Linked DNA regions of Homo sapiens: regions 2 and 3 are each linked to region 1. The links are contacts of gene promoters, found by promoter capture Hi-C in blood cells and fetal thymus (Javierre and others, 2016). All regions are on one chromosome and are shown on one strand. Each heading gives the region's core, a stretch centred on a gene start or on the middle of the fragment in contact. The rest is flanking DNA. Distances are from core to core; before and after follow the strand shown.

The links. Contacts are between HindIII fragments. The CHiCAGO score rates a contact against its expected background, and 5 or more counts as called.
Region 2: a fragment that was not itself captured here is called in contact with the fragment with the promoter of ZNF710 in region 1 in 1 of 17 cell types (neutrophils); the score reaches 5.6 in neutrophils.
Region 3: a contact is called between the fragment with the promoter of ANPEP here and the fragment with the promoter of ZNF710 in region 1, in 3 of 17 cell types (neutrophils, monocytes and M1 macrophages). The highest score is 12.1, in neutrophils.

What each region holds. Positions count from the first base shown.
Region 1 is chr15:89,999,889-90,003,032 of GRCh38, forward strand. ZNF710 (zinc finger protein 710) reads left to right here and starts at 1,436. Exons shown (of 5, transcript NM_198526.4): 1 at 1,436-1,726. RefSeq lists silencers at 888-1,057, 1,466-1,634, 2,050-2,549 and enhancers at 2,249-3,017, 3,018-3,144. The HindIII fragment of the contact is 9,552 bases long and covers 1-3,144 here.
Region 2 is chr15:89,789,776-89,792,919 of GRCh38, forward strand. It overlaps ANPEP (alanyl aminopeptidase, membrane), which reads right to left. Exons shown (of 21, transcript NM_001150.3): 17 at 2,677-2,787; 18 at 2,385-2,552; 19 at 1,178-1,318; 20 at 685-766. Among named protein-coding and RNA genes, the nearest start is that of MESP2, 15 kb to the left of the region's middle. RefSeq lists an enhancer at 2,512-3,012. The HindIII fragment of the contact is 1,043 bases long and covers 1,187-2,229 here.
Region 3 is chr15:89,813,376-89,816,519 of GRCh38, forward strand. It overlaps ANPEP (alanyl aminopeptidase, membrane), which reads right to left and starts at 1,477. Exons shown (of 21, transcript NM_001150.3): 1 at 1,397-1,477. RefSeq lists an enhancer at 1,046-1,545, promoters at 1,413-2,567, 1,413-1,901 and cis regulatory regions at 1,516-1,521, 1,773-1,901, 1,809-1,812, 1,811-1,840, 1,858-1,860. The HindIII fragment of the contact is 11,363 bases long and covers 1-3,144 here.

The DNA.
Region 1 (3,144 bases), core at 186-2,685:
AGCCAAGGAGATGCAGCCGGGAGGAAGGAAGGGAAGGGAAGGAAGGGAAGAGGGAGGGGAGAGGATCCAGGCTTTCCTTCCTCCCGGTGACCTGGTCCTGAGCCGCAGCTTCCCTTGCATTGTTCCCTGAGTTTGCTCTCGGGGCCCACCGAGACCTCACGTTTCTCCCCCTGGCTGCAGCCCCAGTCCGAGGGCCCGGCATCCAGCAGGTGCTCAATACTTACTTGGGAAAATGACAAATGTGACCAACTTTGCTTTGGGAACTTTCCCCCGTCTTCTCCCCACTCCTCCGGAGAACCCGAGGACAGAGCAGGTCTTGGGAGCACGCCCGGGCGCCCCATGAATAATTGACCCTTCCTGGCGGCACTGCCCGGCTCTGTCCGAGGGCTCCGGACCCGCCCTGCGTTGCAGTCGAGAAACGGCTCGGAGTGGCGGGTGTTCTGGAGGTTGGAGGCCTGGTGTCCGGCCTGCGCCGGAGCTGGAGGGCGGCGAGGCTGTGCCAAACCCCGCGGCCCCTCAGGGAGCCGAGAGGGACCTGACGGCCGCGCTGCCAGCGACCACGCCTCGGCGCCCCCCAGCAGTGCGCCCCGGGGCCGAGGCCCAGGCCCTGGGCTCGGGGACCCCGCCAGCCCGCCGATCCCAGCAGCTGCCCTGAGCCCCTTCTCCACCCGGGCCCTGGCGCTCGGAGCCCGCGCCGCTCCCTCGAGTCAGGCCGTCCAGGGCTCTGCTAACAGCTGTTTAAAGGCTTTTGCTGTTCAGTGCTCTGCGGGGATGTTTGTTCCAGGCCCATCTGCCTACTTTAAAAATACATAAGTGAAGCACACACACCCAGCTTGCCACCTCTGGCTGGGGAGGGGCGGGCTCGGCGGCCCTCGCTCGCACTTGGGAAGGAACCGGCACCCAGGAGCCGCACCCGTGCCCCAACACCCGCACCGGCTCTCCTCTCCAGAGGACGCCCCTGGCTTCCCTTGGGGGGGGCGGGGCGCAGGGCCCCCGGGCCCCCTTTGTACCGGACAGGGCCGGGCCCCCCATTTCCAAGCGAGGTCTGCCTCTTCCCCGCTTCAGTTAATCTTTGTTCCCCTTTTCTGCTGAGAGGAGAAAAAAAAAAGAGAGAGAGAGAAAGAAAGAAAAGAAGGAAAAAAGGCGTGACTTGATTTTCAAACGAAACTCCCACAGCAAACAAAACCCTTTTAGAGAAATAAGAAAGGAGGAAGAAGGAAGAAAAGAGGGAAGAAAAAAACAGGAGAAAGAAAACCCTTCAGGCTTTCAATTCGAGTGGGAGAGTTGAACCGAAAGAAAGAGAAAGAAAGGAAGAAAAATCCTCTGCGGTAGAAAGAGAAAAGAAAACTTGGGCTGACAAGAGGGAGGTGTTGGGGGTGGAAGGAAGTGAGAAAACAAAAGAGAGATAAAAGGGCTGCTTTTCTGTCTCTCTCTTCCTCTGCGAGCTGGCTTAGGAGGAGCTGTTTTGCATCCCTTCACGTCAGCCCTGCCTCATTCCCTTCTTCCAGGGAGGGAGAGAGCGCGAGCGAGAGAGCGAGCGAGAGGAGGGGGGAGAGAGAGAAAGAGAGGAGCCGGAGGGAGGGCGGCAGGAGCAGGCGGCGGGCGCGCGTGGAGGCGGGCGGCGGGCGCACAGCAGCAGCCCGGGCGGTGGGCAGCCAGGAGCCCCCGGCCCGGCCCGGCCCGGCCCGCCGAGGGCCCCAGCGCAGGAGCCGCGCCCGGACCCAGGGTGAGTGTCCCGCGCGGCCCCCCGCCCCAGCCCCAGCCCCAGCCCCGCAGCCCCGCGCTGCCGGCCGGCGGGGGCGCGGGGGGCGCGGGGGTGGGTCGCTGCGGCCGCGGCCGACCCGCCCCCCGCCTCTCCCTGGGGACGGCCGCGCGCAGGCCCGCGCCGCGCTGCAAACATGTCGTCTTTTCCTTTCACTTCCACATTCCCTCATGCCGGAGAGCTGGAGGGAGAGAGGGAGAGCCGGGGAAAGAGGGAGAGATGGCGTCTGGGGTGGGGGGGAGGGAGAGGAGGGGGAGGGGGAAGGGAGAGGGAGGGAGCGAGCGAAAGAGGGCGAGAGGGAGGAGAGCGCGCGAATGAGAGAGAGAGAGAGAGAGAGAGAGAGAGAGGCAAAAATGAAAGGAAAGCGTCGCGGCGGCGGCGGCGGCGGCGCGGGAGGCCCGGGAGGCGACGGTGGCGGAGGCTCTCGGGCCCGCACGTGGGTGTCCCGGTGCTGGGTGCGCTCCCCCCACACCCGGCCCGGGACTCAAAGTTTCACCCCCTCGCCGCCCCGCCCCTACGGCTGCCCACAAACTTTATTCTCGGAGCGGGTGGGGTTGTTGCGCGTCCCAGCCGGCCGGGGGTGGGGGAGAGCTGAGCGCGCCGCTGGCGGGGCTGGGGGCGTCCCCGAGGGCCACTGGCCGCCGCACGCTGGGCGCCGCGGGATCTCCGCCGGGACAGCGTCGGGGCGCCGCGGGCCGGGGACCCAGGACCGGCGCTCGCTGTCTGGGGGCGTGGGGGTGGGGGTGGCGGGCGGGGTCCCTACGGCCCGTCTTGAGCCTCCCGCGGCTCAGCCCCCCTTCCTCCTCGTCGCCCTCTCTCCGTCTTCTCGCGGTCATTTTCCTAATTGGATGGAGCTGTGGGGCGTGAGCACCAGCGTCAGATCGGGGCCCTCAGGCTACCAGGTGGGCGCGCGGGCTCGGGGACCGACGGGGCAGCCCCAGCCTCCCCACCCTAGGCGCACAGATCCCGCAGATCCGGCCCTTGGGCCACCGCCCCCTTCACCGCGGACTTGCTAACTAGTGCGTATCGGGTTTTTTTCCAACTTGCCTTTTAAGATGACTTTTATGGGCGCTGCAACTGCTTCCCTCCAGTCTAAGCTGTAGTTTGGAAAGATTTAAGAGGCCAGGGAGGTGCTTGTGTGGATTTTAACCAACCTGAAAGGGTCATTCATGTATCTCTAGGATTTGCGAGACGGTTAGGGCAAGGCGTAGCAGTATCCGGGGTGCCTTTTCTTTTTTCTTGATATGGAGTCTTGCTCTGTCGCCCAGGCTGGAGTGCAGTGGCGCGATCTCGGCTCACTGCAGCCTCCGTCTCCCGGGTTCAAGCGATTCTCCTGCCTCAACCTCCCCAATAGCTGGGACTACAGGCGCACGCCACCACGC
Region 2 (3,144 bases), core at 458-2,957, 210 kb before region 1:
AAAAAAAAAAAAAAGCTGGACGCCGTGGCTCACGCCTGTAATCCCAGCACTTTGGGAGGCCGAGGCAGGCAGATCATGAGGTCAGGAGATCGAGACCATGGTGAAACCCCATCTCTACTAAAAATACAAAAAAATTAGCCAGGCGCGGTGGCGGGCACTTGTAGTCCCAGCTACTCAGGAAGCTGAGGCAGGAGAATGACGTGAACCCGGGAGGCGGAGCTTGCAGTGAGCCCAGATCGCACCACTGCACTCCAGCCTGGGTGACAGAGCAAGACTCCATCTCAAAAAAAAAATAAAAAATAAAAAAAATAAAAGAATGCGTTTATTTTTCATATGACTAAATTATTTAGAGGTAAAATTACATGATCAGTGATTTGCTTAAAAATTGCCCGCCCGGAAAAAGTACTGGCAAAATGTTGATAATTGTTGAACCTGGGTAACGGGTACATGGAGGTTCATTATACCACTCTTCCCTTTTGTGCCTATACAAAAATCCCAAGATGAATTTTTTAAATTGAATTATCAACATTTCCAAAGTCTGGCTACTCGGCTTCCTCTGTAAATGAGGAAGGCCTGGCGGCGTGGAGCCTGTGCTCCCTCAGGGCCACGTGGGAGAAGAATGGAGTGCCCCTTTGGCCTGGGAAGGAAGTAGGCAGAGCCCAGGTCTGGGGAATGACTTCTTACCTGCTGCAGCTCATACTCGGTGGAGAATCGTCGTGTCACTGCCTGGATGAGGTTGGAGAAGGAGAACGAGCCACCACCATAACTGCAGGGAGGGAGAGAGGTGAACTGTGAGGGAGGCCGGGAACTAAGGAGGCTCATCCTCACACCTACTGGGTAGGGAGCCATGATTATAGAGGAGATGAAATGACACGCCCTGGGAGACCCCACTAGGATGTGGGGGAGTCACAGCTTGAACACAGGTCTGACTGCCGAGTTCCTCACTCCCCTCTCTTCTGGAGAATACGCCCACACGCCACGTTTTCCTTCCAAATGGGAAAAGGGACGGCCCATACCCCAGCTTGTCTTTCCATTCCTGCCCCACCCTAGCCCCCAGGCTTGGCTGATTTTTGTCCACTTCTGGTTAGTGCCCCCGGCGTGTCTTACCCGCACAGGCCACCCCCCGGGGCCCCAGCCTCGGCGCTCGCTGTCCCTGACACCCATTCCACAGACTCACTCGTTAAAAAGCTTCTTCCAGTTGCTCTGGACAAAGTCCCAGACCAGACCTTGCCCAATGACGTTGTTGGTAATGCTGATGATGGTAGAGGTGGCGTCCTGCTTCCGGATTAAGTCCGGGTTCAGGGTGTAGCTCAGGTACCTAAGAGGGCCAGATGCTGTCTCAGCTACTGCTAATTCAGGTGACTCAGGAGAGAACTTGGACTGTCCCACGCACATCACCTATGCCTGCATCCTCTCAACATCCCCTCGGCCTGCCAGGGGCTGAGGGACCCCTTGGTCCTTCTTCCCTCTATAGATGGAAAACTGAGTCACCTAAGCAGGGTCACAGGGTCACTGGCTAAGCTAGTGTCATGCCTGACATAGAAATATTTGACAATGAATCAATGAAGGAAGGAGTCCTAGCGCCCCAAGCCCTGGCACCAGGTGGGTGGTCACTCCCGTCTTTGACACTGAGGGTGGCCCTTCTTTTCTTTTCTTTTCTTTTCTCTTTTCTTTTCTTTCGAGACGGAGTCTCACTCTGTCGCCCAGGCTGGAGTGCAGTGGAGCGATTTGGGCTTACTGTAACCTTCGCCTGCCAGGTTCAAGTGATTCTCCTGCCTCAGCCTCCCGGGTAGCTGGGATTACAGGCATGTGCCACCATGCCTATTTTTTTTTTTTTTTTGTATTTTTAGTATTTTTAGTAGAGACGGGGTTTCTCCATGTTGGCCAGGCTGGTCTCGAACTCCTGACCTCAGGTGATCCATCCACCTCAGTCTTCCAAAGTGCTGGGATTACAGGTATGAGCCACCACACCCTGCCCAAGGGTGGCTCTTCTTTACTGCATCCAGGTAATGGCATATGAGGCACATGGTGGGAGGTGGGGACCCTCATCCAAGGGCTTGAGGGGGTGCCCAGCTGGATGTTTGAAAAGACCCAGGTCCAGCTACACCAGAGCCTTTGACAGAAGGGAAGACGAGTTGTTGTCAGGTAAAGGCTAAGAGGCCACAGCAGCTAGGAACAGAGGACATGGACCCAGACCTGAGTCCATATCTTGTCTCTATCACTTATTAAAGCTTCCAGTCTGCACCGGTTACTTTGGAAATACTGCCTCCACCTCAACAGGTCTGTGGGGGTCACGTGAAGGATCTGGCGAGGAGTGTGGAGGCCTGCCTGGTTCTCCAGGTGGGGAGAGGGCTCTCGCAGTCCCACCCTGCGCCAAGACTCACCTGTTCAGGATCCACAACTCTTTGCTGCAGGCCAGGGCTGCCCGGAGCTTGTCAGCCTCATTGACCAGTGTGGCATTTCGGAACTGCTCCCAGGCGAAGTCCCACTCCTCCTCCCCGCCCTGGGCGATAGCGTTGCAGTAGACGGTGGACCGCAGGTTGGGGTGGATCCTGGTGTGGGGTAGGGAGGTCAGGTGTGGAACAGCAGCGGGGAGGGTGGGACAGGGTTCTGCTGAGGACGGGGCTGTTGGGGGCAGATGAAGACTGGCAGAGGAGGCGCAGGGGAGACACTCACGGGTTATTATTGGGGTTCTCCATCCACTGCTTGAAAAGGCCAGAGACCATCTCCTCACACTCTGGAACTCCGTTGGAGCAGGCGGTGCTGATGGCATTAACCTCGCTGTACCTGCCCCAGGGGTGACACGCGGTTAGCACACCTGGCGAACTCCAGCCAAGATTCACCTCTTGACACACAACCCCAGGCCGGCACCCTGCCTAAGGCTCTGTGGCCTAACTGGCCCTCTGACCCCCGCTGTATGTGCTTTGTGCCTTGGGCCTGAGGTTCCTTGGTCCCCAAAGCAGCCCTGTGACCCAGAAGGGCAGGAACAGGCTCCAGCCCCAGTTTCAACACCTAGAAACTGTATAACCTCAAGCCAGTGGGGTGAGCTAGAGTTTCAGTTTGGGTCTTTGTATAAAGAGGTCCGATGGGCCCTCAGGCCACATGGAGCCTCAGGGCAGGACCTCCCTGCTCCTGGGTGGGGGT
Region 3 (3,144 bases), core at 227-2,726, 190 kb before region 1:
GTGTAACGAAGGTCTCATTCCCCAGAAGGCTCTGGGGGAAGCACAGGGCAGGCGGCTGGGCTGCCTCAAGACACTGGGCCGGTTTCCCCACCTGTGAAGCGGGAGCAGCGCTGTGGGTGGCCTCCTTGCACTCATAGTGTGGCCTTCGAGGCTAGGGCTCCACAGGAAGGTGGCTGAGAGTGGATGAGGGCCTCATGGGCCCAGCACACCCTCCCACAGGGAGAGGGGAGTCCACCCTCTTCCCTGCCCAGCTCCCCCATACCCACTGGGGCTAGCCAGCCTTCCTGTGGGACAGAGGCTGTCCCCACTTCCTCCTGGTCACCCCTACCCCACACGCCCACCTCCCCTCCACAAAACACATACCCTGAGGGGCCCTCTGGTCCAAGCCTCCCCTTTCACAGGTGAATTAACTGAGGCCCAGTAAGGCCAGGGCGTTTAGAGACTCAGGGATGAAGCCACATCAGACCTCAGGTCTGGCTGAGACCAGGGCTCTGACCACCCCCGAACACGGCCTGGTGGGTTGCAGTCCAGGGGCTGAGGTGGGGGAGGAGTGGGGATCCAGTCACAAAACCCCAGGACATAGCCCACCTGGGCCGTCCCTGCCCACCGCACTGCTGGGGGGGGGGGGTGCGTTCTGGAGTCATTTGGGGAAAGGATCCCATTGGCCCTGTTTAGGGGACCTTTTCCCAGACCAAGAGTGGATTGCAATGGGGCCCTGGATCTGTCTCAGTTGCTCACCAGGGAGGGCGTGGAATAGGCTCCACAACCCCCAAACCTCGGTCCCCATCCATGCCCCGGCATCTTGGCCGGGTTGTAGGAGCGAGGGAGAACGCGACTGTAACGCGGGCGTTGAGCACCTAGAGTTCCCCTTCCTCTTCACTGAGAGCTGCGGCGGAGGCTTTAGACCGAGGAGCGAGATCTAAGGTTAAAGAAAGGGCCTCTGAGCCCAGTGTTGGCCAGAGACCCCACAGGCGGGCCGGGTTCGCCCTTTGCCTTCGGCCGCGCCCCACCCACCAGGGACAGAGTGGCCGCGGCCGAGCCGGGTCCACCCGCCGCAGCTTAGCTCCGCTCCGCCGCCCTCCCCGTCCGTCCTCCCCAGGCTCCCGTCGCCCTCGCCCACCCTGGGGCCCCCTCCCCAGATGGGAGCCCCTCCGACCCCTGCGAGGCCCGCTGGGGACCCACTTGACCGCGAGATCGTAGTGGGAGCTCGGCCAAAAGAATTCTTCGCTTTCCCTGGCCCTCAGTTTACCCATCTGGGAAGAGGGGCGTCGCGGCCGCAGAAGTCCAGCTCCGCACGCGCCAAGCGCTGGGTCTGCAGCTCCCTCGGTTCCCGCGCACCCAACTGCCCCACGACCCCTACCCGCGCCCGCAGCCCCCGCCCTCCCGCCCCACTTGCCTGGGCCGCCGGGCGCTGGAACCTGGACCCTGGACCCTGGCGGGTTCCGAGCTGCGCCGCCGCCGTCCCTGCCCCTCCAGCACTGGACTCCTCCTTTCCCGTCTTTTTAAAGGGAAGTAACCGGACCCGACCACTACTCCACCCGATTCACCCCTAGCGGGCCGCCCGCCCGCAGCTCCGCCCGGGCTCCTCCCCCGTCCGCCCGCGGCTTCCCGGGAGCCCCCCAGGGCTCCTCCGCTCCTCCGACGGCCCGGCCTTCCCCCCGGGGCCTGGGATGCACCAGGGCTCCTGCTGCCCCCGACGGGGTCCCTGTCGCCGCAGCCCGCGGGACCCGCCGGCCACATCTGGACGGCATCTGCCGCGGGGGAGGGGCTCAGAGCCTCGCCCTGAGTGTCCCGCAGGGAGCCTTGTGCATCCGGGGCAGGAAGCCAGCGCATCCCGTGCAGACGGGTGGTGCAGATAACGGACCCGCCACAGCACGCAATTCAACTTTCTTGGTACCTGGGACTCGTAGTTCAGAAGGCGCAGTAGCACGACCTTGCGAAAAAGCACCGGAGTCGGGAACACGCGCTTCTCATTTTTTTCTTTTTCCTTTATTTGTTTTTGAGACAGAGTCTCGCTCTGTCGCTCACGCTGGAGTGCAGTGGCACTTTCTCCGCTCACTGCAACTTCCTCCTCCTGGGTTCAAGCGATTCTCCTGCCTCAGCCTCCCGAGTAGCTGGGACTACAGGTGCACGCCACCACGCCTGGTTAATTTTTGGAGTTTTAGTAGAGACAGGGTTTCACCATGTAAGGCTCGTCTCGAACTCCTGACCTCAAGTGATCCGCCCGCCTTGGCCTCCCAAAGTGCTGAGATTACAGGAGTGAGCCACCACACCTGGCCTGCGCCTCTCATCTTGATCCTGCTTGCAGAGGTTGTGCAGCCACCGGAGCCCCGCCAGGGTGGGGCTCCCTGTCTCTGAGCAGCTTTAATGGGCGGTACCAGATAATATTTGTATTGGTTCCCTGTGGCTGCCGTAACACAAACATAAAACAACACTAATTTACTATCTTACAAGTTTTGTAAAATCAGAAGTCCAAAATGGGTCTCGCTGGACTAAAAGCAAGGGGGTTGAGGGATACAGCTTTCTTGAGGCTGGAAGGGAACCTGTTTCTTTGGCTTTTCTGGCTTCTAGAAGCTGCCCACATTCCTTGGCTGGTGGCCCCATCCATCTTCAAAGCCAGCAGTGGCCCACCAGTCTCTCACAATCTGTCACTCTGACACCAACTGTTCTGCCTCTTGCTTCCACTGGTGAGCATCTTTGTGATTACATCGGGCCTACCCAGATAATCCAGGGTAATCTTTCTATTTTAAATCAATGGATTGGCAACTTGAATTCCACCTGCAACTGTAATTTCCCTTCGTGGGGTAGCATAACATATTCACAGATTCTGGGCATTAGAACCAGGGCATCTTTTGAGGAGGAGGATATGATTATGTCTACCACAATATTCAAGCTGACTTCCAGACTTTCAGATTTATAATCAAATTTAAGCTCTTCCTTATCCATGATTGGAATCCTTGGGACAGTTAAAGCCTTGCACTGCATGGTCCAAATTGATGGCTTTGTGACTGGCTGTGTTTTATTATTTTACTTGCACTTGCTCTTCTTTTGGAAACTTCATGGAGGACCAGGGTACCTCTAGGTAGCAGCCTTGCTTCTCCTTCCTAATTTGCTCTGTACTCTTAAAAACCAGGTCACAAACAT